Linked DNA regions of Homo sapiens: regions 1, 2, 3, 4, 5 and 7 are each linked to region 6. Evidence: promoter capture Hi-C in 16 types of primary human blood cells and fetal thymus (Javierre and others, 2016). All regions are on one chromosome and are shown on one strand. Each heading gives the region's core, a stretch centred on a gene start or on the middle of the fragment in contact. The rest is flanking DNA. Distances are from core to core; before and after follow the strand shown. Region 1 has its middle 8.7 kb from the start of ZNF550. Region 2 overlaps ZNF274 (zinc finger protein 274). Region 3 has its middle 5.3 kb from the start of ZSCAN18. Region 4 overlaps ZSCAN4 (zinc finger and SCAN domain containing 4). Region 5 overlaps ZIK1 (zinc finger protein interacting with K protein 1). Region 6 holds the start of ZNF227 (zinc finger protein 227). Region 7 overlaps ZNF460 (zinc finger protein 460).

What was found. Contacts are between HindIII fragments. The CHiCAGO score rates a contact against its expected background, and 5 or more counts as called.
Region 1: a contact is called between a fragment that was not itself captured here and the fragment with the promoter of ZNF227 in region 6, in 1 of 17 cell types (total CD4 T cells). The highest score is 7.7, in total CD4 T cells.
Region 2: a fragment that was not itself captured here is called in contact with the fragment with the promoter of ZNF227 in region 6 in 2 of 17 cell types (total CD4 T cells and naive CD8 T cells); the score reaches 14.9 in total CD4 T cells.
Region 3: a fragment that was not itself captured here is called in contact with the fragment with the promoter of ZNF227 in region 6 in 1 of 17 cell types (total CD4 T cells); the score reaches 12.0 in total CD4 T cells.
Region 4: a fragment that was not itself captured here is called in contact with the fragment with the promoter of ZNF227 in region 6 in 2 of 17 cell types (non-activated CD4 T cells and activated CD4 T cells); the score reaches 7.3 in non-activated CD4 T cells.
Region 5: a fragment that was not itself captured here is called in contact with the fragment with the promoter of ZNF227 in region 6 in 1 of 17 cell types (non-activated CD4 T cells); the score reaches 7.7 in non-activated CD4 T cells.
Region 7: a contact is called between a fragment that was not itself captured here and the fragment with the promoter of ZNF227 in region 6, in 1 of 17 cell types (activated CD4 T cells). The highest score is 6.8, in activated CD4 T cells.

What each region holds. Positions count from the first base shown.
Region 1 is chr19:57,566,879-57,570,259 of GRCh38, reverse strand. No RefSeq gene overlaps it. Among named protein-coding and RNA genes, the nearest start is that of ZNF550, 8.7 kb to the right of the region's middle. The HindIII fragment of the contact is 4,639 bases long and covers 1-3,381 here.
Region 2 is chr19:58,184,566-58,188,038 of GRCh38, reverse strand. It overlaps ZNF274 (zinc finger protein 274), which reads right to left. Exons shown (of 8, transcript NM_133502.3): 3 at 2,201-2,327; 4 at 997-1,092. Among named protein-coding and RNA genes, the nearest start is that of ZNF274, 3.2 kb to the right of the region's middle. The HindIII fragment of the contact is 1,171 bases long and covers 1,334-2,504 here.
Region 3 is chr19:58,101,769-58,105,206 of GRCh38, reverse strand. It overlaps a transcript of ZSCAN18 not described here. Among named protein-coding and RNA genes, the nearest start is that of ZSCAN18, 5.3 kb to the right of the region's middle. The HindIII fragment of the contact is 167 bases long and covers 1,260-1,426 here.
Region 4 is chr19:57,676,837-57,680,596 of GRCh38, reverse strand. It overlaps ZSCAN4 (zinc finger and SCAN domain containing 4), which reads right to left. Exons shown (of 5, transcript NM_152677.4): 4 at 2,518-2,683; 5 at 1,445-2,431. The coding sequence ends at 1,692. Among named protein-coding and RNA genes, the nearest start is that of ZNF551, 3.3 kb to the left of the region's middle. The HindIII fragment of the contact is 774 bases long and covers 928-1,701 here.
Region 5 is chr19:57,586,226-57,590,066 of GRCh38, reverse strand. ZIK1 (zinc finger protein interacting with K protein 1) reads right to left here. Exons shown (of 4, transcript NM_001010879.4): 3 at 1,402-1,528; 4 at 1-56. Among named protein-coding and RNA genes, the nearest start is that of ZIK1, 4.0 kb to the right of the region's middle. The HindIII fragment of the contact is 5,417 bases long and covers 1-3,841 here.
Region 6 is chr19:44,210,557-44,214,406 of GRCh38, reverse strand. ZNF227 (zinc finger protein 227) reads right to left here and starts at 1,875. Exons shown (of 6, transcript NM_182490.3): 1 at 1,822-1,875; 2 at 1,163-1,317. The HindIII fragment of the contact is 5,683 bases long and covers 1-2,799 here.
Region 7 is chr19:57,293,919-57,297,780 of GRCh38, reverse strand. ZNF460 (zinc finger protein 460) reads right to left here. Exons shown (of 3, transcript NM_006635.4): 3 at 3,712-3,862. Among named protein-coding and RNA genes, the nearest start is that of ZNF460, 15 kb to the right of the region's middle. The HindIII fragment of the contact is 1,148 bases long and covers 1,764-2,911 here.

The DNA.
Region 1 (3,381 bases), core at 874-3,373, about 13 Mb before region 6:
CACAAATCCTCACCCTAGTGCCCAGCACACTCTGCCCTCTGTCTGAGGTCCTTATTCCAGAATTCAGGCAAGAAAACTTGATCTAGCCTGGTTGGGTCAGGTATCCCCAGAGATTGGTTAACAGGACTGTGGGTAGTGGATTATTCTCGAAGAAGGGGCTGAGCTAGGCAGGACTCCAAGGTAGCATGTCCATCAATATCCCCCAGGTATCTTATTATATAATGCTGCCTCTTTTTTTTTTTGATGGAGTCTCACTCTCGCCCAGGCTGGAGTGCAGTGGCATGATCTTGGCTCACTACAAACTCCACCTCCCAGGTTCAAACGATTCTCCTGCCTCAGTCTCCTGAGTAGCTGGGATTATAGGCGTGTGCCACCACACCCGGCTAATTTTTGTATTTTTAGTAGAGATGAGGTTTCACCACGTTGGCCAGGCTTGTCTCAAACTCCTGACCTCAGGTGATCCAGCTGCCTCGGCCTCCCAAAGTGCTGGGATTACACGCATGAGCCACTGCGCCCAGCTGCTTTTTTATTTTTTAAAGAGCTCCTTATGTCAGCATGAATTATCCTCATTTCCTGAGGCCTAAGTTATATTCTTCCAGTGGTAAGGGAGATGGTTTTAGAAAGCACAGAGGTAGGACATCAGGTGGCGTTGTAGGGCAGGTGAGCCCCAAAATTGGGGCTTAGTCCAAGAAGGTTCTTGGCTTCACTCAGGAAAGAATTCAAGAGCAAGCTAGTGGTAGATGGAAAATAGCTTTGTTGAGGCAGCAGGGTTACAACTCTGTGGCTGCTCCTACAGAGCAGGGCAACCCCATAGGCAGTGTGTCGAGTATCAGCTCAGGGGGCAGCTCTGCAATCATATTTATACCCGCTTTTAACTACATGCAAAGGGTGGGTTATTTGGAAATTTCTAGAAAAGGGATGGTAATTTCCGGGTGTTGTCATGGTGATGGTAAACTGCCATGGCACTGGTGGGTGTGTATTATGTAGATATGCTCTTGGTGCCTGTTCCCTGTTTCAGCCAGTCTTCAGTCTGGTATGGAGTCCTGCCTCCTATCTCACTCTCCCATCAGAGATTAGATACTCCTCTTTAATCTTAAGGGGGCTCTGTGACTGCTTGCTGCTGATTTTGTGGGCCTAGGCCCTGCCTAGCACTAAAGGAGTAAACATCCCTGGATACCACATATAAGGTCCCCAAAGGAAGGACACTTCCATTCTCTGGAATAGTAGACAAGGATGGGTTGGAAGCCTTGTGCCAGCATTGTCTTTACCTGGAACTAGAACAGGATACCCCAACCCCTCTCCTGTGGATACTGGTCCATGTCCTGTTAGGAACTGGGCTGCACAGTAGGAGGTGAGTGGCAGGTGAGTGAGCATTACTGCCTGAGCTCCACCTCCTGCCAGATCAGTGGCAGCATTAGATTCTCATAGGGGTGCTAACCTTATCATAAACTGTGCATGCAAGGGACTGGGGTTGCACACTCCTTATGAAAATCTAGTACCTGATGATCTGAGGTGGAAGAGTTTCATCCTGAGACCAGCCCCCAGCCCCAGCCCCACATACCCCATCCATAGAAAAATTGTCTTCCATGAAACTGGTCCCTGATGCCAAAAAGGTTGGGGACTATTGATCTAGAAAACACAAACTTTACTAAGAGGTTAAACAAGCAAGAGCCAAAGAAAATATACATAACAGGGTCACTTGCTTATAGATCTTTTGAATGTTAACCTATCCAGAGTTGCTAATATATGTGCAGCAGGTTTTATTAACTGCACAGACTTTACCTTGTTCCGCTAGTAGATAATCTAATGCCAGTGTGTTATTGAGAACTGCATTTGCCAAAGAGTCTAGAGATTCTTGAATTGCTGGTAGTGCCTAACCTGTGTTGGTGGCTAAGGATTCTAGAGTTTGAGTCAAGTTCTTTAGGGTTGACTTGTGGTAGGCAAAGCCACCCTAGGGTGCTGCTTGTCCTATGGCTGCCCTGATTCCCACCAGAATTAATCCTATTGCTTGTTGACTTCTGGTGTTCCTGGGCCTTATTGGGTTATAGACTGTGACCCTTGGAGGGGCAAGGGTGGTCAACATACATTTATCTTTGTTCCAAGTTTTTGATATATAAGGGAAAGCTACTCCTAAAAGAACAGATGGCTCCCTGGGGAGCCAGGAGTAGTTACAGCATGTGACTTCTCATTCATGGCCACAAACAAAAATGAGTCCAGTTGGAGCATAGAGGTCCTACAGGGTGTAATGTCTATCCTTTGCTGCCAAGTTGGGTCTATAGAGATATTCTTCCCCTGTTCCAATGGGGGTGGTCAAACAAACCTTGTTTTCCAGAAGCGAATAGTACTCCCACCCTCCCAGATTAGGCAGTCATTTTTTCCCGTGTGTTCTGGTCTGGGAGAAGACATCATATATGGTCTTCTTGCCTACAAGTGAAATACCATTTACCTTGCTGTTGCCTTGGAAACTTGGTAACTATAGTTAGATCAGAGCATCACAGGGAAACGTCTGCTTTTGTGTCATTAACATAGTAGTGAGTGCAAAAGAATCATTAATGCACTGGAGATATACTCAACTTTTCAAGTCCAGGTATAATGGCAAGTGTGGAAGGGGACATTCAGGTGGAATCCATTAAGTGAAGGAGAGTTCCACTGAATAAGTAGGGGTTTTGGTACTTTGGGATTGCTATGGTTAGTTAGAAGTACTGGGTAGATGTCTGTGAGGTTTTCCAGATAGGCCAGAAGATGGAACTCTAGATCCTGGGGATGTTGATGACAAGTCCAGCAACCATGAAGATGATTCCCTGACACTATAATTTTTGAACTGTTTACTATAGAGGTTTGATCTAATTAGAACAATTAGAGGATTTCTGTCTAAACTTTCACCTAGTGAGAGCTTTTTGTCCCTAATGACAGACATTCATGGCACTGTATAGAGGGGATATTTCATGCTGAGTGAATACCCTTCTCCCTCTCCATTTGGGTTGTGTTTTTCCTCCATGTAAAAGCTCAGGACTGCCCAATGAATCTAGACAGTTCCATTATGAGACAAGTTAATTTTCTTCTTCTGGAAGGCATACAATGGGGACAGCCTATTAAGCCCAAACCTCTCTTTCTAACTTCTTCCTGGAAAGAATTTGGAGTCAGAGTTCTTATTTAACATTTCAGATCCTACAGCGCCACCAAGTGAAATAGGATTTTTTCTCCATAAGGAGCCCTATCTGCCCTTTGTGCAAAACCATTAGTTCCCCAATTCCTCTCCCTCCTGTGTGCCTCTGTTAGGGACTAAGCTCCATGCTCCATCTGTTAACAGCAAAGCTGTACCTTTAACAGTCGGGAGAACAGCCACTCAATCCTTATGTTCTTTTGAGTCACCTGTTCTGC
Region 2 (3,473 bases), core at 670-3,169, about 14 Mb before region 6:
AAGAATAAAGCAGAGGTCGGGCACAATGGCTCATGCCTGTAATCCCAGCACTTTGTGAGGCCAAGGTGGGTGAATCACTTGAAGTCAGGAGTTCAAGAACAGCATGGCCAACATGGTGAAACCGTCCGTTACTAAAAATACAAAAACTAGCCTGGAGTCATGGTGCACACCTGTAATCCCAGCTACTGCAGAGGCTGAGGCTGGAAAATCACTTGAACCCAGGAGGCGGAGGTTGCAGGGAGCTGAGATCACACCACTGCACTCCAGCCTGAGCAACAGAGTGAGATTCCATCTCAAAAAATAAATAAAATAAAGCAGACCAGACAGACACGGTGGCTCATGCCTGGAATCCCAGCACTCTGGGAGGCTGAGGTGGATGGATCACTTGAGCTCAGGAGTTCAAGACCAGCCTGGGCAACATGGTGAAACACTGTCTCTACAAAAAAACAATTAAACGGGCATGGTGGTACATGCCTATAGATCCAGCTACCTGGAAGGCTGAGGTCGGAGGACAGCTTGAGTCCAGGACGCGGAGGGTGCAGTGAGCTGAGATCATGCCACTGCACTCCAGCCTCGGTGACAGAGACCCTGTCTCCAAAACAAAAAGAAGCTGACTTGTCTGTATTATAACACCCCCAAAATGTGTATATATATTCACATACATTCACGTAAGCCTATATAAGAAAGTCTGGCTGGAAATACACACCAGGGTTACCAGTGATTATGAGGGGAGGGCAGTAGACAATGCGTGTAACAGACTAAGGGAGCCCCTACTGTCAACACAAGTATCACCTGCCACCAGCAACAGGTTCACTTTCAACCAAGTAGGACACTGCTGACTGTGGAGCCAGAGAAAAACTTCGAGTTTGGTTCTGCAACTGCTCATCACAGCATCCCACCTGGGGTATCCCAATGTCTACTGCTTTTCCAAGATACTGGTCCCTGACTCATCAGTTGGCCCCTTCCCTGTGGGGGCTTCCCATGTCTGGTTCTCACCTGGAATGGTGTCTTGAGGAATTCCTCTCTCCACTGGCCAGAAATCTTCTGCCTCCTCTAACTGAGATACCACATCTGGTTTGGAAAGCTGATGTTCTGCTCAAAGGAAAAGAGACAGGGCTTGTGGGGGTCTGTGTTCAGGAGAAAATGCTATCCTACTGCAGCACAAGCCGTCTCCAGCTTCTCCCCTGCTAAGGCACATGACTTCTGGCCTAGAGCAGTGAACACAACTCCATCCATCCCTGTTGTTGGCTTTCCTAGACTCCTTTGCCAAGCAGCTAAGGGGTCCAGTTCTGGTCAGCCAGACACAAAGGGAGATCGGTCAGCTGGGAAAGCTTTTGCTTTCTGGTTAAACATGACAGCTGTGAAAGGGCTACCCCTTCTCCTTGTTTCTGCCTTGAACACAGATGCAATGCTTGGAGCCACAGCTGTGCAATGACTAGGGGGAACATGGAAAGGTTCACAATAACCAGAGTTTGAAGGGACAGGCTTTTTTTTTTTTTTTTTGAGACGGAGTCTTGCTCAGTTGCCCAAGCTGGAGTGCTGTGATCTGATCTCAGCTCACTGCAATCTCCTCCACCTCCCATGTTCAAGCAGTTCTCCTGGCTCAGCCTCCTGAGTAGCTGGGGTGCTCGGCTAATTTTTGTATTTTTAGTAAAGACAGGGTTTCATCATGTTGGTCAGGTTGGTCTAGAACTCCTGACCTCAACTGATCTGCCTGCCTCAGCCTCCCAAAGTGCCAGGATTACAGGCGTAAGCTACCGTGCCTGGCAGGGACAGGCTCTTTGATGCTACTCCTAAGCTGTTGGGACACTGGCATCGCATTGTCTGGAATTTCTGTGGAGTTTCTTTTTTTTTTTTTTTTTAATAGAGACACGGTCTATGTTGCCCATGCTGGTCTCAAACTCCTGGGCTCAAGCAATCCTCCTGCTTCAGTCTCCTAAAGTGAGCCACCATGCCTGGCCGGAACTCTTGTTGCAAGAACAATAAGCATCCACTACTGCAGCTGAAAACATCCCTGACAGACCCATCTCCCTGGTATTCAGGGAGGGATGGACTAGGCAATGATTCAGAAGTCATACTGAAAAGCTGCCCTTTTCCTACTGGTGCCCCTGCAGTGTGAGCCCAAGCAGACACATACTTCAGAGGTGCTACATTTGTGCTACAAAGCACAGATCCTTCTTGACCTGGAGGCCAGCCTTACCCACTGAGACCAGGTTCCTGTAGTTCTCCAGCATCACTTCCCTGTACAGGGACTTCTGTTTGAGGTCCAGCAGTCCCCACTCTTCCGGGGTAAAACCCAGTGTTACATCTTCAAAGGTCACTGGTTCCTAAAAATCCAGATTCTTGTTCAGCCACAGGCCATCCGCATCCACGACAAAAGAAAGACAGGGGAGGCTGACCAGGCCAGTGAAAGCACAGAATGGTCTACAAGATGACCCAAGGGCATTTTGGGAGTCTCATCCTGAGTTCCTGTCTTTGTCTGAAACCCCAAGCAAACCCAAGCTTGACTCTATTCAGGTTACAATAAGGAGAGCAACACATGAGATCTCTGTAGCATATGAAAATCTGTCCATTTTATTTATTTATTTATTTATTTAATTTATTTATTTATTGTTTTGAGACAGAGTCTCACTCTGTCTCCTAGTGGAGTGCAGTGGCGCAATCTTGGCTCACTGCAGCCTCCACCTCCCAGGTTCAAGCGATTCTCCTGCCTCAGCCTCCTGAGTAGCTGGGATTACAGGCGCATACCACCATGCCCGGCTAATTTTTGTATTTTTAGTAGAGATGGGGTTTCACCATGTTGGTCAAGCTGGTCTCGAACTCCTGACCTTGTGATCTGCCTGCCTCGGCCTCCCAAAGTGCTGGGATTACACATGTGAGCCACCGCACCCGGCCCTATTTTTCTTTTCTTTTTTTTTTGAGACGGAGTCTCTCTCTGTCGCCCAGGCTGGAGTGCAGTGGCGCCATCTCGGCTCACTGCAAGCTCCGCCTCCCCGGTTCACGCCATTCTCCTGCCTCAGCCTCCCGAGTAGCTGGGACTACAGGCGCCCGCCACCACGCCCGGCTAATTTTTTGTATTTTTTTAAGTAGAGACGGGGTTTCACTATGTTAGCCAGGATGGTCTCAATCTCCTGACCTCGTGATCCACCTGCCTCGGCCTCCCAAAGTGCTGGGATTACAGACGTGAGCCACCGCGCCCGGCCCCCTATTTCTTATTCATTTGAAAATTCTGACTTTGGGAGTGGTGCGTATGCCTCCTAGGGAATTCTCTGAGCTGCACCATCACACCCAAGCCGTCAGCCCCTACCCAGGGCCCTGATGCTTCTTTCTATCTCCTTCACCTGTCAGGGATCCATCCTCACCTGTCTTTTCTACTTGTTATTGAACTCTGCTGCTGTCACCTCTTGCTTGATGCCAATTTATCTGCTGAAATCTAAACATAAGCCTGATCCCTGCATAGACCTTTGGGAGGC
Region 3 (3,438 bases), core at 94-2,593, about 14 Mb before region 6:
GAAGTCTCTCAACAGTGGGTTTAAAATATTCAGTACACCATACTGTAAACACGTACTGTCATCCAGGCTTTGTTTACATTTATAGACAGCACTCAGAGTAGATTTAACTTAAATCTTAAGGCCCTAGGGTTTTCAGAATGGTAAATGAGCTTTGGTTTCAACTTAAAGTCACCAGTTGCATTAGCCCTTAACAAGAGTCGGCCTGTTCTTTAAAGCTTTGAAGCTAGGCACTGACTTCTTTCTAGTTGTGAAAACACTACCTGGCATTTCTTCCAACAGAAGGCTGTTTTCTTTACATTTAAACTGTTGTCTACTGTAGCGACCTTCCTCAGTGATCTTAGCTAAATCTGGAGAACTTGCTGCAGCTTCTGCATTAGCACTTGCTGCTTCACCTTGCACTTTTATGTTACGGAGATGACTTAAACTTCATGAACCAACCTCTGCTAGCTTCAGACTTTTTTATTTTATTTTATTTTATTTTATTTTATTTTATTTTATTTTATTGAGATGGAGTCTCACTCTTTTGCCTAGGCTAGTGTGCAGTGGCATGATCTCGGCTCACTGCCAACCTCTGCCACCTGGGTTCAAGCAATTCTCATGCCTCAGCCTCTTGAGTAGCAGGGATTACAGGCACTTGCCACCATGCCTGGCTAATTTTTTTTGTATTTTTAGCAGAGATGGGGTTTCGCCACGTTGACCAAGCTGTTCTCAAACTCCTGACCTCAGGTGATCTGCCCATCTCTGCCTCCCAAAGTGCTGGTATTACAGGCATGAGCCACCACACCCGGCCCAGACTTTTTTTTTGTTTTGTTTTGTTTTGTTTTGTTTTTGAGACAGCCTCACTCTGTTGCCCAGGCTGGAGTGCAGTGGCACGATCTCAGCTCACTGCAACCTTCGCCTCCCAGGTTCAAGCAATTCTCCTGCCTCAGACTCCTGAGTAGCTGGGACTACAGGCGCACGCCACCATGCCCAGCTAATTTTTGTATTTTTAGTAGAGGTGGGGTTTCACCATGTTGGCTAAGCTGGTCTTGAACTGCTGACCTCAGGTGATCCATCCCGCTTGGCCTCCCAAAGTGTTGGGATTACAGGCATGAGCCACTGTGCCTGGCCGGCTCAGAATTTTCTTCTGCATCTTCCTCGCCTCTCACAGCCTTCATAGAAATGAAGAGAGTCAGGACCTTGCTCTGGATTAGGCTTTGGCTTAAGAGAATGTTAGTTCTCTTTGGGTAGTTTGATCTCCTATCCAGACCATTAAAGCTTTCTCCCTATTGGCGACAAGGCTGTTTCAGTTTCTTGTCATTCACATATTCACTGGAGTCACACTTTTCATTTCCCTCAAGTTTTTCTCTTGGCCATCACAATTTGGCTGTTTGGCACAAGAGGGCTAAGTTTTGGCCTGTCTTTGACACGCCTTCCTTACTAAGCTTAATCATTTCTAGCTTTTGATTTGAAGTTAGAGGTCTGACTCTGCCTTTCACTTGAACACTTAGTGGCCATTGTAGGGTTATTAACTGGCCTAAGTTCAATATTGTTTTGTCTCAGGGAATAGGGAGGCCTGAGGAAAGAGATTGAGAGAGAGTGCGTACCAGCGAGCAATGGCAGGTTGGTGGAGGAATCAGGACACACAACATTTATCTGCTGAGTTCATTGTCTTATATAGGCGTGGTTCCTTTCACTCCAGAACAATTACAATAGTTACAACAAAAATTACTGATCACAGATCACCATAACAGATAATAATAATGCAATAGTTTGAAGTATTGTGAGAATTACCAAAATGTGACACAGAGACACAGAGAGCATATGCTGTTTGATAAATGGTGACAATAGACTTAATTGACACAGGTTGCCACAAACCTTCAACTTGTAAAAAATGCAATATCTGCATAGGATAATTAAGCAAAGTGCAAGAAAACAAGGTAATGCCTATATCTGGAAGTTAGTCGTGACACAGAACCTAAAGACTTACCGTATTTCCTTTATTCTGTGATACATATCTTGCCATATTTTAACATCTGAAAACAAACCAGGTTAATCAGTGATATGGTTTAATTGGCAGCCTTTTTTTATTTTTTTATTTTTTTTTAGAGAGAGTCTCGCTGTGTCACCCAGGCTGGAGTACAGTGGTGCTATCTTGGCTCACTGTAGCCTCCACCTGCCAGGTTCAAGCGATTCTGCTGCCTCGGCCTCCCAAGTAGCTGAGATTAGAGGTGCACACCACCACACCCAGCTAATTTCTGTATTGTAGTAGAGACGAGGTTTTGCCAGGCTGGTCTTGAACTCCTGACCTCAGGTGGTCCACCCACCTCGGCCTCCCAAAGTGCTGAGATTACAGGTGTGAGGCACTGTGCTAGGCCTCAGGCAGCCTTTTATTAGCACATAAAATGTACATGTTACCATCTGTTATCTTGGAATCAATGAAATAAGAGTAATATCAGAAGGAGGAATTGAATGACTAGTGAGAGTCCATTTGAGGAGAAATACAACTCTCAAGGAAAAAATCTTGTTGCTGAGATGACAATTAACATTGACATATCCGATGCAGTACAAAATGGCAAGTCTGTGTGCCATTGTAGTCCTTCCTACCTTGCTGAATAATCATTGTTACCTGCCTTCTTTCTTATAGCCTGTGTCAGCCATAATTGTTATTTTATTGCAAGATTTTTAAAGTTCATAATGTGGGGGGAAGCCAAACAGCACAGAAGAGTATATGGTTTGTTTGTTTGTTTGTTTGTTTGTTTGTTTTGAGATGGAGTCTTGCTCTGTCGCCCAGGCTGGAGTGCAGTTGCGTGATCTTGGCTCTCTGCAAGCTCTGCCTCCCGGGTTCACACCATTCTCCTGCCTCAGCCTCCCTAGTAGCTGGGACTACAGGCGCCCGCCACCATGCCCGGCTAATTTTTTTGTATTTTCTTGGTAGAGACAGGGTTTCACCGTGTTAGCCAGGATGGTCTCAATCTCCTGACCTCGTGAGCAGCCCACCTCGGCCTCCCAAATTGCTGGGATTACAGGCGTGAACCACTGCGCCCGGCTGAGTATATGGGGTTTTTTAGTAAGCTGCCTAAACAGGGAAAAGTCACCGTCCTTATGGAGCTTCTACTCTAGCTTTTATACTGAAATACCTTTTGGTCAGTAATCGTGTGTGTGTGTATGCATGTGTGCATTTTGAGGCTTTTATTTATAAAAGAAAACATAATATGCCTGGAAGCTAATAGGTGCTCATTTAAGTGTGTGATCTCTGGCTGCTTAGAAGGCCTATATAGGAAACTCAACCCTAATTAAAGAAAAAAGTTATGTGAAATTACATGAACACACTGGTGCAGGACCATGTAAATATTAGCAGCATGGTTAGGAGTGAGATTCTGTCTCAAAAAACAAAGAAAAAAAAAAGGCTGGGTGCGGTGGCTCACACCTGTAATCCTAGCACTTTGGGAGGCCAAG
Region 4 (3,760 bases), core at 65-2,564, about 13 Mb before region 6:
TTATCAGTTCTTTTTTTTTTTTTTTTTCCCAGACGGAGTCTCACTCTGTTGCCCAGGCTAGAGTGCAATGGCTTGATCTTGGCTCACCACAAGTTCCACCTCCCAGGTTCAAGCAATTCTTCTGCCTCAGCCTCCCAAGTGGCTGGCACTACAGGCGCCAGCACCATGCCCGGCTAATTTCTGTATTTTCAGTAGAGCGAGGGTTTTACCATGTTGGCCAGGCTGGTCTTGAACTCCTGACCTCAGGTGAGCCACTGCGCCTGGGCTTTTTTGTTTTTGTTCTTGAGACAGTGTCTTGCTCTGTCTCCCAGGGTGGAGTGCAGTGGCGCGATCTCAGCTCACTGCAACCTCTGCCTCCCGGGTTCAAGCGATTCTCCTGCCTCAGCCTCCTGAGTAGCTGGGGTTACAAGCATACACCACCATGCCCAGCTAATTTTTGTATGTTTAAATTAATCAAAGTTGCCAGCAAAAAAAAAAAAAAATATTAATTCCTCCCTTAGAAGTTACAATAAACATCTTTTTAAAATTTTTTTGAGCCTGTCACCCAGGCTGGAGTGCGGTGGTCTGTTCTCAGCTCACTGCAACCTCTGCCTCCCAGGTTCAAGTGATCCTCTCATCTCAGCCTCCCAAATAGCTGGGATTACAGGCGCATGTCGCCAAACCTAGCTAATTGTTTTTTTGTATTTTTTGTACAGATGAGGTTTTGCCTTGGTGCTCAGGCTGGTCTCAAACTCCTGGACTCAAGTGATCTGCCCGCCTCAGCCTGACAAAGTGCTGGGATTACAGGCATGAGACACTGTGCCCAGCCTAAACATCTTTAATCTAATTCGACCTTCAAATAACTACTGGATTGCTTCACATGTAATGCAGGGACCCTGTAACAGGACCTTTGGGGATGAATTCTTTAGTATTTGTGTGAGAAAAGCTTTATTCTCCTCCACCTTTGAAAGATAACATTGCTGGATATAGATGTTAGGGTGGGGTTTTATTTTTTGTACTAAATTTTGAACTTTCACTCCATTCCCTTCTTGATTATCTGGTTTCTGACAAGAATTCTACTCTAAATCTCATCCTTGTTCCTCAGCAGGTAAAGTGCCCTCTCCCACCTCCATCTTCTTTCAAGAATTTCTCTATCTTTGGCCTTCTGTAGTTTGAATATGATGTACCTAGTTGTAGGTTTTTGGTATTTACACTGCTTCCTCTTCTCTGAGATTTCTGGATCTGTGGTTTGGTGTCTATGATTAATTTTGGACCTCCAAGTGGAGGTTGCAGTGAGCCAAGATCACACCACGGCACTCCAGTCTGAGCGACAGATCAAGACTCTGACTCAGAAAAAAAAAAAAAAGCCGGGCACGGTCACTCACGCTTGTAATCCCAGCACTTTGGGAGGCCGAACCACTGCGGCCGGCCCCATCTCTTTTTTTAAAAAAGGATATCAACATTATGGATTCATTCATTTATTCAACAGAAATTTATTGGTTCTTGGAAATGTTCCACTTTCCCAACCACTTGGAATACTTTAGTGAACAAAACTGACAAATTCCATGCTCTCCTTAGCCTTACATTTTAATGAAGCAAGACAATAAATTGAAAGCATAATCAGGAGATTATATCTTATATCCTAAGTAGATAAATACTATAGGAATATACATACTTGCATACATATTTATACACATTATCAGACCAGCAGCTTAGGAAGCTTCTGGTGTGGAGGGAACACTTGGCAGGGTAATTTTCTCATGAGTCCTCATATGGCGGTGGTATGTGGATGACTGGCGGTAGCTTGTCTTACAAAAGGGACATGTATAAGGCTTTTCTCCTGTGTGGATTCTCTCATGAGACCGCAGGTTGGTTTTGTGGCTGAAGGACTTTTTACACATGCTGCATGTGAAAGGCTTCTTTCCTGTGTGAATTATCTGATGCACCCGTAGGTCTGATATCTGGAAGAAGCCTTTTTGACACTCGGGACAAACAAATGGCCTCTCATTCCTGTGTCTTCTCTGGTGAGCTAATAAGTGACAGAGATACTTAAAGACCTTGGGGCATTCTTCACATTTGTATGATTTTTGGACTCCATGGGATCCTTTCTGATGTACCTCACATGTGGAATTTCCCTCATTGCTCTGGTGGGTAAGGGCAGACTCAGGGGAGGACTGCTCTGGTTGAGAGATACACCCTGCTCCCATCACCATAGGGACACCTTGGAAAGTGATTCCATTTATGGACCCTTCCTGAGATCTAGCAGTGACTAGCTCTGCTCTTTTTGAGTTGTATGGGTTGTCAGAAGAAACACCTCCCTCTTCAGGCCTAGGACCGTTCTCTTCCTGGATGATGATTAGGGAAACTATTTGATTGCCTTGATTAGTAATATTTTCATTTACTCGAGTAGTTTTCGAAGAACTGTTCCAGCCATCTTGTTCATCTTCATATCCTGTGAAAATAGACACTCAATGAAGTTGTACTTAAGAAGGGGTCCACATAGAACACTCCTCAGTTGTGCAGATTCACCTGACTTACCTTGTCCTGTTTCTAAGGAAGTATCTTGGGAAGTCTGGGAGGGTGTCCCCATGTTTGCTTCTCTTGTGGTTTGGGCATTCACTTGTTTTGTGAGATGAACAATGACATCTCTTAAGGGCATATCCTCAGAAAAGAGAGCTTCCTGTCCCTGCATGTGGACGTGGACCTGTAAAGAAAGCCAGATCACTGTTGTATCTGAATCTGTTGTGTAACAGAAGACTTTTTGGAAAAGTGGTCCTTAACAGGCTCTCACAAGCTCCCTCAAGTATTGGCTATCACATATTTTGTCCACCATCTCTGATGGTGTTATTCTTGTTACTACAAGCTCTTATGTTTAATAAAGTCACATGGACATTGAATTTACAAGTACTGAATCATTTCCCCTAGGAAAAATTCAGGGTTAGTTTCCTGTGAGCTTCTGGCTACATTATTTTTGTCAACTGATCAATACATGAGTTTGTTTTATGTGTGTATATGTTCAAAGACACCCCATTTAATATATATTATTGATTAATCCTGAACTCAGAGGATCCAACACATGTATTATCTCCATAATACATAGCAACTTTCCTGCACTTAGGAAGACTAGACAGTGTTTCAGCATTTTACTTCAGTGTCACTTTAAACAACAAAGTTATCAATAAAAAGCAAAAAAAAAAATGTGCCACTAAATAGACTGTGAAAAGGACACTTATTTACACTGTAGGAACCAAAATAGGAAGTGAGGTTGTGGCCTTGTTCAACCTCACCTGGAAACATGCACCTAAGGTAAATCAAATATTTTACCACCTGCACATATCTGAAAATGACGGAGAAGATGCCTCAGGTATTTATTTTAAGCTTACAAATAAATTTTAGCAATTTTGCAAATATGGGCTCTGAGAATAAGGATCTACCGTAATTGCTTCTTTAGAATGTCTTTCTTGATTAGAGTTCCCTGACAGAAGAACAAGCTCTTGTCAAGACATTTCTTCCTCAACCTTGATGTCTTCATTTAAATGTCAATTTCAGGCTGGTCTCACACCTGTAATCCTAGCACTTTGGGAGGCCAAGGCAGGCGGATCACTTGAGGCCAGGAGTTCGAGACCGCCTGGCCAACATGGTGGAACGCTGTCTCTATTAAAAATACAAAAATTAGCCGGCCTTGGTGGAGCACGCCTGTAATCCCAGCTACTCTGGAGGCTGAGCCACGAGAATGACTTGTGCCTGGGAGGCATAGGTTGCAGTGAGCTGATATCATGCC
Region 5 (3,841 bases), core at 1,006-3,505, about 13 Mb before region 6:
TACAGAAACATTCTGGTCAGAAGGTGTCTCTTCATCCTCTGTTCCATGGCCACAACCTGAAAGCAGAGAACCGCTGATGAAATATACATTGACTATGCTGAGAGCAAGAAGCCCCATTACACACATACCAAACGAATGATTCACCAGGTTTGTTTTGAGGATAATGGAGCTGGGGGCAAGTTGAGGAAGGGGTTGCTTTGCAATACTGGATCTCTAAAGATCACAGAATGAGGGAGGCCTCACCAAATAAAGGACACAAGGATGGGATGAAGGACAGGGAATGGCATTGCCTTCAAACCATTCCTCTACCAACAGCCTCAAAAATTATCCTTGAGTAGCCTTCCAATTCCTAAAACTCACCACATAGTCTTCAGGAGGACCTTGTCTGCTGGTGACACCTGCATGCTGTGCAGAAGGTTGACTGTGCCCAAGCCCAGGAAAATACAATTGAAACTGAGTAGCAAGTGATATGATCACATATCTTCATGTGGTCATATATACATACTTCATGAGACATTATGTGTGTGTCAATGTTGGAAAACATTGCAGAGGGAGCAGTGCAGAGAAGCAGATGATGCATGAAGATCAGAAAGGTGGAGGTAGCCAGGTGCTAGAAGTCATAGATAAAAATAATAAGAGAGAGAAGTGTCAAGTACTGAGAAGAAAATATAGAAATGAGATTTGGCCAGTGGCATGTGCACCCAAACAGTGGTGAAGACAGGACAGGCTCCTTATGTGATCGGAAAACAGCCCGGATATCATGCCCCCAACCAGTTGCCACTCAACAAGCCCAGGCCTTCTCTGAGACCATGTTCACCCTATAAAGCAACCAGGTTTCTCTGCACACCCTCAGTTGTCTAGCTATGTGGGACCTTCATGAAGCCAAGTCCTACCAGAAAGACAGAACATGTGAGTGATCAGCACTGATGCAGAACGACTCAGCACACAACAGCCCATGGGCAAGAAAGTTAATATCATTAAACAAACAAACAAACAAACAAACTAGAAGGAGTGAGTAAGAAGAGCCCATTGTCCCCATAAGTATAGACAATGACAATGACTACAATCATGACACAGGTAGCCACAAGAAAATGTCAGCTAGCAGATGGGGGTGCAGGGAACTTGGGACACAAGGTGTCATGGATCTGAACACAGACACCCAGCCAAGAAGAGAGCAAGGAACAGAGATCCATTTGGCTGACTGAAGAACACCTGCTGCCCAGTGGCAGGTGTTCCCAGACCACTGGGCAGCAGGTGTTCCCAGACCACTGGGCAGCAGGTGTTAGGGCTACTCAGGCAGTGCACAGTGCTGGATCCCATAGCACATATCCCAAGAAAGTGGAGAAGTCAGCAAAAGACCATAGACAGACCAGGACACTGGAGTTGGTATTAGGGCCTTACCCAGTGAGGCTACAAGGGCAAAGTTCTCCAGCATCACTTCAAGGTACAGGAGTCTCTGAGCCTCATCAAGAAGTCCCCACTCGTCCTGTGAGAAGTAAATGGCGATGTCCTCAAAGGTCACACAGCCCTGTCATGATGGGGACAGGTCACTCCACAATCAACGCCTCCACAAGTTCATCCACCCACGCAATCATCCCCACCTTAAGGAAATACAGGCCCTGGTGACACAGATGCCCACTCTCTTTTCATGGTCCCAATGATCACTGTATCCTTCTACAGCACCAACCAGGAGGTGGGCAGGATGCACCACATCTAAACTTTGGGCCCGGTATGTAGGAGTGTATCCCTTCTTGTCAGGCAGTTCCCCAAGGGTCTTTCAGATAGTGCCTCCTAGACACAATCAAATGTGGCTTCACCTTTGACCCTTAAGTCCTCAATGCCAGGGGCCTGGGTCCTTCAGTTCACACTCCCTCTCCATGTACACATCATTCTTTGAACCATACTCGCTCAGTCTCACTCCCACGGCTACCTCCACCCCTCTGCCTGCCAAATTGAGACATCATCCAGTGCTACACAGACCTCTGATGGTTCCTACTGTCATAGACAGCCCCCACCCTGCTCTGAAGGGCTATCTTCCTGACTCTGTTCCTTGCTTCAACCTCAGCCACCAAGAATCACCTGATGTCAGACACCGATGGCCGTCCTCCACTTGTGCTGCACTTGATGTCCCCTCTTCAATCAACAACCTTCTTCTCACCTCTTAACCCTCATTCAAAATCAGTGGCCTCAGTGGCACAGACTCTCAGTGGCTCTCTACCTCCAACCTAATGACTCATACAGATGAACACTTGTACTCCTAAACTTATTCAACTGCTTGACTCACACCCTCCCCAGACTCACCAAGGGTCACAACAAATTCCTGGCGAGTTTTTACCATGGTGAATAAGCACTAGTCCTAGTGTTTTAGTCAGTTTGGCCTGCTAGCATAATACCACAAACTGGGTGGCTTATCAACAACAGAAATTTATTTCTCACAGATCTGCAGGCAGGAAGCCTGAGATCAGAGTGCCAGCATGGTCAGGTTCTGGTAGGGACTCTTTCCAGGTTGCAGACTGCTGACTTCTTGTATCCTCACTTGTTGGAAAGAGCACTAGATAGTAGCTCTCTGGCCTCTTTGTTTAAGAGCACTCACTAATCCCATTCATTAGGGCTCCACCCTCATGACCTAATTATCTCCCAAAGGCCCAACCTCCAAATACCATCACACTGGAATTAGGCTTTAAGCATATGAATTTTGCGGGGACACAGTCCACTGTACCTGGCCTCAGTGTCATCTTCTACCAATTATTTCTTTATCTCCATGTCTGTCTTATGTCCCTAATGCCTTGGAAGCCTTGACCACTTATCAGATGATATGATTTGGCTGCGTCCCCACCCAAATCTCTTCTTGAATTGTAGTTCCCACAATTCCCATGTCATGGGAGGGACCTGGTGAGAGGTAATCGAACCATAGGGGCAGGCCTTTCCCATGCTGTTCTCATGATAGTAAATAAGTCTCACAAGATTTGATGGTTTTATAAGGGGGGAGTTCCCCTGAACAAGTTCTCTCTTGTCTGCTGCCATGCAAGACATGCCTTTCACCCTCCACCATGATTGTGAGGCCTCCCCAGCCACGCGGAATCATGAGTCCATTAAACCTCTTTTTCCTTACAAATTATCTAGTCTCCAGCACATCTTTATCAGCAGCATGAAAATGGACTAATACAGTAAATCAGTATGAGTAAAGTGGGGCTGTGCTGTAAAGATAACTGAAAATGTGGAAGCAATTTTGGAATTGGGGAACAGGCAGAGGTTGGAACAGTTTGGAGGGCTCAGAAGAAGACAGGAAAATATGGGAAAGTCTGGAACTTCCTAGAGACTTGCTGTCTTTATCAGCAGTGTGAAAATGGACTGATACACCAGATCATCCTCTTTCCTACAATCTTCCCATGACCACTTTTCTCTCACAACTGTTTGTGATGCTCACCACCTCTACCACGTGTCCAAGCATGAGACACAGTCATAGCCCCAACCTTCCCTTTTCTGTTTTTTTGTTTTGTTTTTGAGATGGAGTCTCACTCTGTCACCCAGGCTGGAGTGCAGTGGCGTGATCTTGGCTCACTGCAACCTCCGCCTCCTGGGCTCAAGCAATTCTCCTGCCTCAGCCTCCCTAGTAGCTGGGATTACAGGTGCCTGCCACCACGCCTGGCTAATTTTTGTATTTTTAGTGGAGACGGAGTTTCACCATGTTGGCCAAGCTGGTCTAGAACTCCTGACCTCAAGTGATCCGCCTGCCTCGGCCGCCCAAAGTGCTGGGATTACAGGTGTGAGCCACCACACCCAGCCCTTTCCTGCATTATAAATAGCATTATCTTCAAGACCAGGATTACCCACTCCTAAT
Region 6 (3,850 bases), core at 626-3,125:
ATCTCCATCTCACAAAAAAAAAGAAAAAAAAAGAAAAAAGAAAATTTTCATAATAAGAAAAAAACTACTACACAGAATACCAAACCTATTTTGAGAAACATCCATAGCATATACTAAAGGGAAACACATTAAAGTGTTAGCAGTTTTATTATAAGTAATTTAAGTTTTCTGAATATAACATCACTGTCCAATAGAAATATACTGAGACACATAAATAATTTTAAATTTTCTAGCAGTAACATATAAAAAAGGCAAAAAAACAAAAACAAAAATAGGTGAAGTTAATTTCAACAACATAATTTAAGCCAATGTATCCAAAATATTACCATTTTGACATATAATACAAAAAATTATCAATGAGCCATCTTACATTTTTTGTACAAAGTTTTTGAAATCCAGTGTGTATTTAACACTTACAGCACATCTCAATTTGGACTAGACACATTTCAAGTGCTCCTAGGGCACACATGGCTTATAGCTACTGGATTGGATAGTGCATCTCTATAATGAGCATTCATTACTTCTATAACTAGAATATGACATATTTTGACATGGAATGAAATTAAGTAAGTGAGATGTTGCAGGATTTTTCTAAAAAATTCAAAATTCATCAGTGCAGTTTTTGAGGTCTTCCACAGTAAAATCCATACCTACATTCCCAAGGCTGATTTCCAACGACTCACCGGTAGCCATATGGATTACTATTTAAGATAACTGAAGACGACTGTATCATTGAGATTAAGACCACAGACTCAGAAAAAGGAATAGAAAATAAACAACAACAAAAACCAAAGAAACAAAAACAAACAAAAAAGATCACACAGTCTGAAAAGGAATGCTTGGGTTCAATCCCAAATCCACCTCTTACTATCAGTTGAATAACTTCGGGAAAGTATTTAATAACATAAACTCTGCCTAATTTCCTCATAACAAAATAACAAGACCTACTTCATCAATAGCTATGGTCCACAGACGAATGCCTTAAAATCAAAGTGGTAAGATGTTATTGGTAATACTCATTTCCAAGTAGTTTTCCTACCCACTCTCACATTTATTCAACAAATATTTCATCATTTTTCAGTAGTAACTTACTGAGTGACGGAAACTTGATTAACTGAAAGGACAGAAAATGGAACAACAAAGTGCGTTCAAGAGCAGGTACCTGGGGCTATGCTGGGAGAAGCCAAGAAGTCCCTCCTTCCTCCTCTTTGCAAATTCGGAGGCGGTGAATAAAAGGATGCTGTCAGCACGATGGAGTCTCTATCCCGGATAAACGGCGGTAAACATCCCCACGCATTGGAGCCCGATGACTCAATCCTTCTTAAAAAAAAAAAAGATCTGTAAAAGTTCGGGAAGAGCTCGGTCTCCTGAAGGATACGACAGAAAGGCCATGGCATAAAGCCCTGACTTTTCTTCTCTCTTCACTGGAGCTTCCAGTAAAAAGGGCGCTTGTGAGGGAATCACTGTATCAATAGCAGGAGCCAACCCAGTATCAGGTGCCACCACTGTTCTAAGGTTTGACCCGTATTATCTTGTTTAATTCTAATTACAACCCTACACAGTAACGACTATCTTTATTGCTATTTTAAAGATGAGGAAACAGGAGCGCGGATCATAGGTAACTCGCTGTTTATTATACCCACAGAACTAGCGGCGCTGCTTGCCAAGTGCGGGAGGAGAGCAAACTTCCCGCCCTCGGCCTCTCGGCCTCCGCCGCGGCCGCGACCTCTCCATCCCAAGACTGATGGCTGGGGAGCGCCTATTCCCAAGCACAGGCTGAAAAGGTTCAAGAGGGGTCGTGGGGGTGCAGGGCTGACTCACCTCCCGGACCCAAAAGATGGTGGCGGCCTCGCTTTCCGGGGCGGAAGTGGCTCTGCCTGCCCAGAGCTCCTGAACTACCCTTCCCAGAAGGCCCGCGCTCCTGCGGCCCAATTGTTTCCGGACAGAGTTCTGGAATACGTTTCCCAGAACTTCCAGAAGGAAAAACCATCCAGGTGCCGCCCTCTTCGCGCTTGAAAAAAAAAAAAACAAAAAAAAAAACGGAGCGAGCGAGTGAGAGAGGGTTACGGAGAGTGTGACAAAATTCTCGGAGCTCCCGGACTACAACATCCAGAATCCTCTTCACGGCTTATTGCTGTTTAGCCAGGCTGAAGCAGTTCTCTGATGTCAGTGGAATTTAGGTTTTTCTTATTAACAAAAAGTAACAGCAAATATGTGAAGAATTGGAGCCCTAAAATAAAAAAAGACTCCCAGCACTTTGGGAGGCCGAGGCGGGCGGATCACGAGGTCAGGAGTTCCAGACCAGCTTGGCCAATATGATGAAGCCCCGTCTCTACTAAAAATATAAAAATTAGCCGGGCGTGGTGGCGCGCGCCTGTAGTCCCAGCTACTTGGGAGGCTGAGGCATAAGAATCGCTTGAACCCTGGAGGGTGCAGTGAGCCAAGATCGTGCCACTGCACTCCAGCCTGGGCGACAGAGTGAGACTCTGTCTCAAAAAAAAAAAAAAGAAAAAAAAAACTATTATAAGAAACAGATCACGTGATCCTGTACTAATAGAATTATACCCACCACTTCCAAAAAAAAAAAAAAAAAGGGCAGAGGAAACCCTTTAAGTTTTTACATTTAACAGGATCGACTAATAGAAAAACTACTCTTTAGATACTAAAAGAATGAAAGAGCAATCAAAAAATGCAACGAAGGCAGAATATATTATGGATTTCCACTTTTCTTAATAGCACAGTCATATAATTCAGAACAACTTGCTTACTGAGGATAGCTAGACATAGAAAACACAAGCTTTGGCATATGGTAGATCAACTCCACAAAGCAACTAGGGCCTCTGTAATCATTCCTCAAGGAGTTTCTGAATTTGAAAGATGAACAAATTTATTACTTCAGTGTTTAAACCTTGATCTTTATTTGCTTAAATGTATAATGGAATTGATGTTTCCAAGAATTGAGGGTTGAAAGAAGAGAGCAATACCTAAAAATATCCACATATCTACTACAGTACATGTTTGCAGTTCTCATTTACTAAATATATATTCTTTATTCTGTTATATACAACTATCTCTTATAAAGAACCAAGTATGTGCCAGGAACTAGTTCAAACTATTCAGACTATGGGACCCTCACTACATTTTCACAACTTTTTTCTTTTTTTTTTTGTTCTGTTTTGTTGTTGTTGTTGTTGTTGTTGTTGTTAGACAGAGTTTGGCTCTTTTGCCCAGGCTGGAGTGAAGTGGCATGACCTCGGCTCATTGCAACCTCCGCCCTCACACAAGGTTCAAGCAAGTCTCCTGCCTCAGCCTCCCAAGTCGCTGGGGTTATAGGCACCCCCCTCCCCACCACGCCCAGCTAATTTTTGTATTTTTAGTAGAGACGGGGTTTTGCCATCTTGGCCAGGCTAGTCTTGAATTCCTGACCTCAGGTGATCCACCCGCCCCGGCCTCCCAAAGTGCTAGGATTACAGGCATGAGCCACCACACTTAGCCCATTTTCACAACTTTTTTAAAACAAATAATGTCCTCTAGTTTACTCTTTGGGATCCAGAGGCAGAGAGAGGTTAAGTATATCTCCTAAGATGGAAATTTGATTATTTTCACCTGCATGTCTATCCAGTGCCCTTAAGAGAAGGTTCAAATGCTTTAACAAGTCGCACAAACAGGAATTTTCCAGATGCTGTTTCTCTCTTGGAATCCACTTTCCACTCTACATGTCCAGCCATAGTGGATTACTTGTACTCCTACAAAAAGCCTCTAATTCTTTGTATTTGGTGTTCCTTCTGTCATAACCTGCTACTCTTTTCCCTCCTGGGTGACGGTCTTCATCCATAGCTTAAATATTCCC
Region 7 (3,862 bases), core at 1,088-3,587, about 13 Mb before region 6:
AATGTCTTAAAATGAGTGAAAACAGAAACACAACATATAAAAATGTATGGGATGCAGCAAGAGCAGTTTTAAGAGGGAAGTATTTAGTAATAAACACCTACATCAAAAACAAGAAAGATCTGGCTGGGCATGGTGGCTCACACCTGTAATCCCAGTGCTTTGGGAGCGCAAGGCAGGAGGACGACTTGATGCTGGGTCAAGACCAGCCTGGGCCATATATATAGCAAGACCTTATCTCTAAAAAAAAAAAAAAAAAAAAAAAAAAAAAAAAAAAAAAGATTAGCTGGTCATGATAGCGCATACCAGTAGTCCTAGCTATTCTGGAGGCAGAGGTGGGAGAACTGCTTGAGCCCAAGAATTCAAAACTGAGGTGTGAGGATCACTTGAGCCCAGGAGTTTGAGTTGATTGTACCATTACACTCCAGCCTACGTAACACAGTAAGACCCTGTCTCTTAAAAAAAGAAAAAAAGAAAAAAGAAAAATCTAACAATGCTTCTCAAGGAACTAGAAAAGAACACATCAGACCCAAAATTACAAGGAAAGAATTAATAAAGATCAGAAGAGTAATAAATAAAACTGAGACTTAAAAAAAAATTCAAAGGATCAACAAAATGAAAAGTTCATTTTTTGAAAAGAAACCATTAGACTAACCAAGAGAAAAGACTCAAAATCAAACACATACAAAAATGACACTGCAACTGATACCACAAAAATACAGAGTCATTAGAGACTATTATGAACAACTACAAACCAAAAAGTTGGAAAACCTACAGAAAATAAATTCCTAGACACATACAACCCATCAGGATTGAACCTAGAAGAAACAGAAAATTTCAATTGACCAATTCTGAGTAACAAGATTTAAGCAGTAATAAAAAGTCACCCATCAAAGGAAAGTCCATGATCTCATGGCTTCACTGCTGAATTCTACCAAACATTTTAGGGGAATTAAATATGAATTCTTCTCAAACTTTCCCAGAATAATGAAGAGGAGGGAATTATTCTAAACTCACTCCACAAGCCAGCATTACCATGACACAAGCACCAGATAAGGACACACACATGCAAAAGAAAACTACAGGCCAATATTCCTGATGAACATAAATGCAAAACTCCTCAACAAAATACTAGCCAACCAAATCCAAAAGTACATCAAAAAGATTGTTTACCATGACCAAGTGGAATTCATTCTAGGGATGCAAGAATGGGTTCAACATACACAAAACAATAAACATGATAAATCAACAGAATGAAGAACAAAAAATGTGATTATCTCCATAGGTGGAGAAAAAGCCTCTGGTAACATTCAATATCCCCTCATGATGAAAACTCTTAACAAATTACACATAATAATAGAAAGAATGGGCCGGCCGCGGTGGCTTACACCTGTAATCCCAGCACTTTGGGAGGCCGAGGCGGGCGGATCACGAGGTCAGGAGATCAAGATCATCCTGGCTAACATGGTGAAAACCCATCTCTACTAAAAATACAAAAAATTAGCCAGGCATGGTGGTGGGCACCTGTAGTTCCAGCTACTTGGGAGGCTGAGGCAGGAGAATGGTGTGAACCCAGAAGGCGGAGCTTGCAGTGAGCTGAGATCATGCCACTGCACTCCAGCTGGGCGACAGAGCGAGACTCCATCTCAAAAAAAAAATTAAAAAAAATTATAATAATAATAGAAAGAACGTACCTCAACATAATAAAGGTAATAAGTAACATACCCACAGCTAACATCATGCATAATGGGAAAGTGCTGAAAGCTTTCTCTCTATAATCTGAAACAAAACAAGTATGCCCACTTTCACACCTTTTAACAAAGTACAAAAGGTCTGAGACAGAGTAATCAGGCAAGACAAAGAAATAAAGGGCATGCAGATCAGGAAGCATGAAGTCAAATTATCCCTGTATGCACATGACAGGATCAAATATATAGAAAACCCTAAACTCCAAAAGTGGCACCAAAAAAATCTTAGGACTGATAAATTCACTGAACTTGCAGGATATAAAATCAACATGCAAAAATCAGCAGCATTTCTATACACCAACAATGAATTAGCTGAAAAAGAAATCAAGAAAGCCATCCCATTTACAATACTTCAACAAAAATAAAATAAGAATACATGGAAAACTATATAACACTGATGAAGTAAATCAAAGAGGACACACATAAAAAAGGAAAAACATCCCATGGTCATGGATTAGAATGGTTACTATAAAAATGAACATACTTTCCTGTAAGAGATAGCTTATGAAAAAAAATGAACATACTACCTCAAGTGATCTACAGATTCAATGCACTCTTAACAAAATACCAATGACATTTTTCACAGAAATAGAAATAGTAATCCTAAAATTCATGATATCACAGAAGATACTGAATATCCAAAGCAATCCTAAGCAAAAAGAACAAAATGGGAGTCATCACACTACCTGACCTTGAAATATACTACAAAGTGATGGTAACCAAAACAGCATGGTTCAGGTATTTTTTAAAAACCACACAAACCAATGGAACAAAACAGAGAGCCCAGGAATAAATCCCATTTACAGCCAACTGATTTCTAACAAAGGCACAAAGAACATTCACTGGGAAAAGGACAGTCTCTTCAATAAATGGTGCTGGGACACTGGATATTCATATGCAGAAGAATGAAAGTAGACTCATCTCTCACCATACACAAAAATCAACTCAAAACACCAAGTATGCTGGCTCATACCTGTAATCTTAGCTACTCAGAAGGCTGAGTTGTGGCTCACTTGAGTCCAGGAGTTCAGGACCAAGCTGGGCAATGTGGTGAGACTATGTCTCTAAAAAATAATTAAAAAGCAAAAACAAAAATTGGGAATGTATTTTTAGGGCAATTTGAATCTATGCTCTCAGGATAATCAACTCAAAATGGTTTGAAAGCTTAAATGTAAGAGCAAAAACTATGAAACTACAGAAGAAAACATAGGGGAAATGCTTCTGGATATTGGTCTGGGCAAGGATTTTATGAATACCTGAAAATCAAGGTAACAAAAGCACAAATAAACAAAGGGATTATATTAAACTAAAAAACTTCTGCACAGCAAAGGAAACAACAGAATGAAGAGACAACTAGTAGAGTGGGATAAAATATTTGCAAACTATTCATCTGAAAGGGATTAATATCCAGAATATAAAAGGAACTCAATAGCAAAAAAAATAAAAATAAAAAATCTGATTTTAAAATGGGTAAATAAGGTGAATAGACATCCCTCAAAAGGAGACATACAAATGGCCAAGTATATGAAAAAATGCTCAACATCACTAATCAGGGAAATGCAAATCAAAACCACAATGAGATATAATTTCACCTCAGTTAGGATGGCTATTACCAAAGATAAAAAATAAAAAATGCTGCTGAGAACATGGAAAAGGGGGAACTCTTATATATGGCTGGTAGGAATGCTAATTAGTATAGCCATATGGAAAACAGTATGAATGTTCCTCAAAAATCTAAAACTATAGCCAGGCACGGTGGTGTGTGCCTGTAGTCCCAGCTACTCAGGAGGCTGAGGTGCAGGACTGCTTGAGCCCAGGAGTCTGAGACCAGCCTGAATAACACAGCAAGACCCCATTTTAAAAAATGAAAAATAAACAAAAGTTAAAAATACAACTACCATATGATCCACTGGTAATGATCTATACCACTACTGGGCATATATGCAAAAACAAATATATCTATACGTCAAAGAGAGATCTACACTCCTATGTTTATTGAAGCACTATTCATAATAGCTAAGAAATCAGTCTAAGTGTCCATTATCAGATGAATGAAGAAAGAAAACATGGCATATATACACAATGGAATACTACTCAGCCATGAAAAATAAACCTGT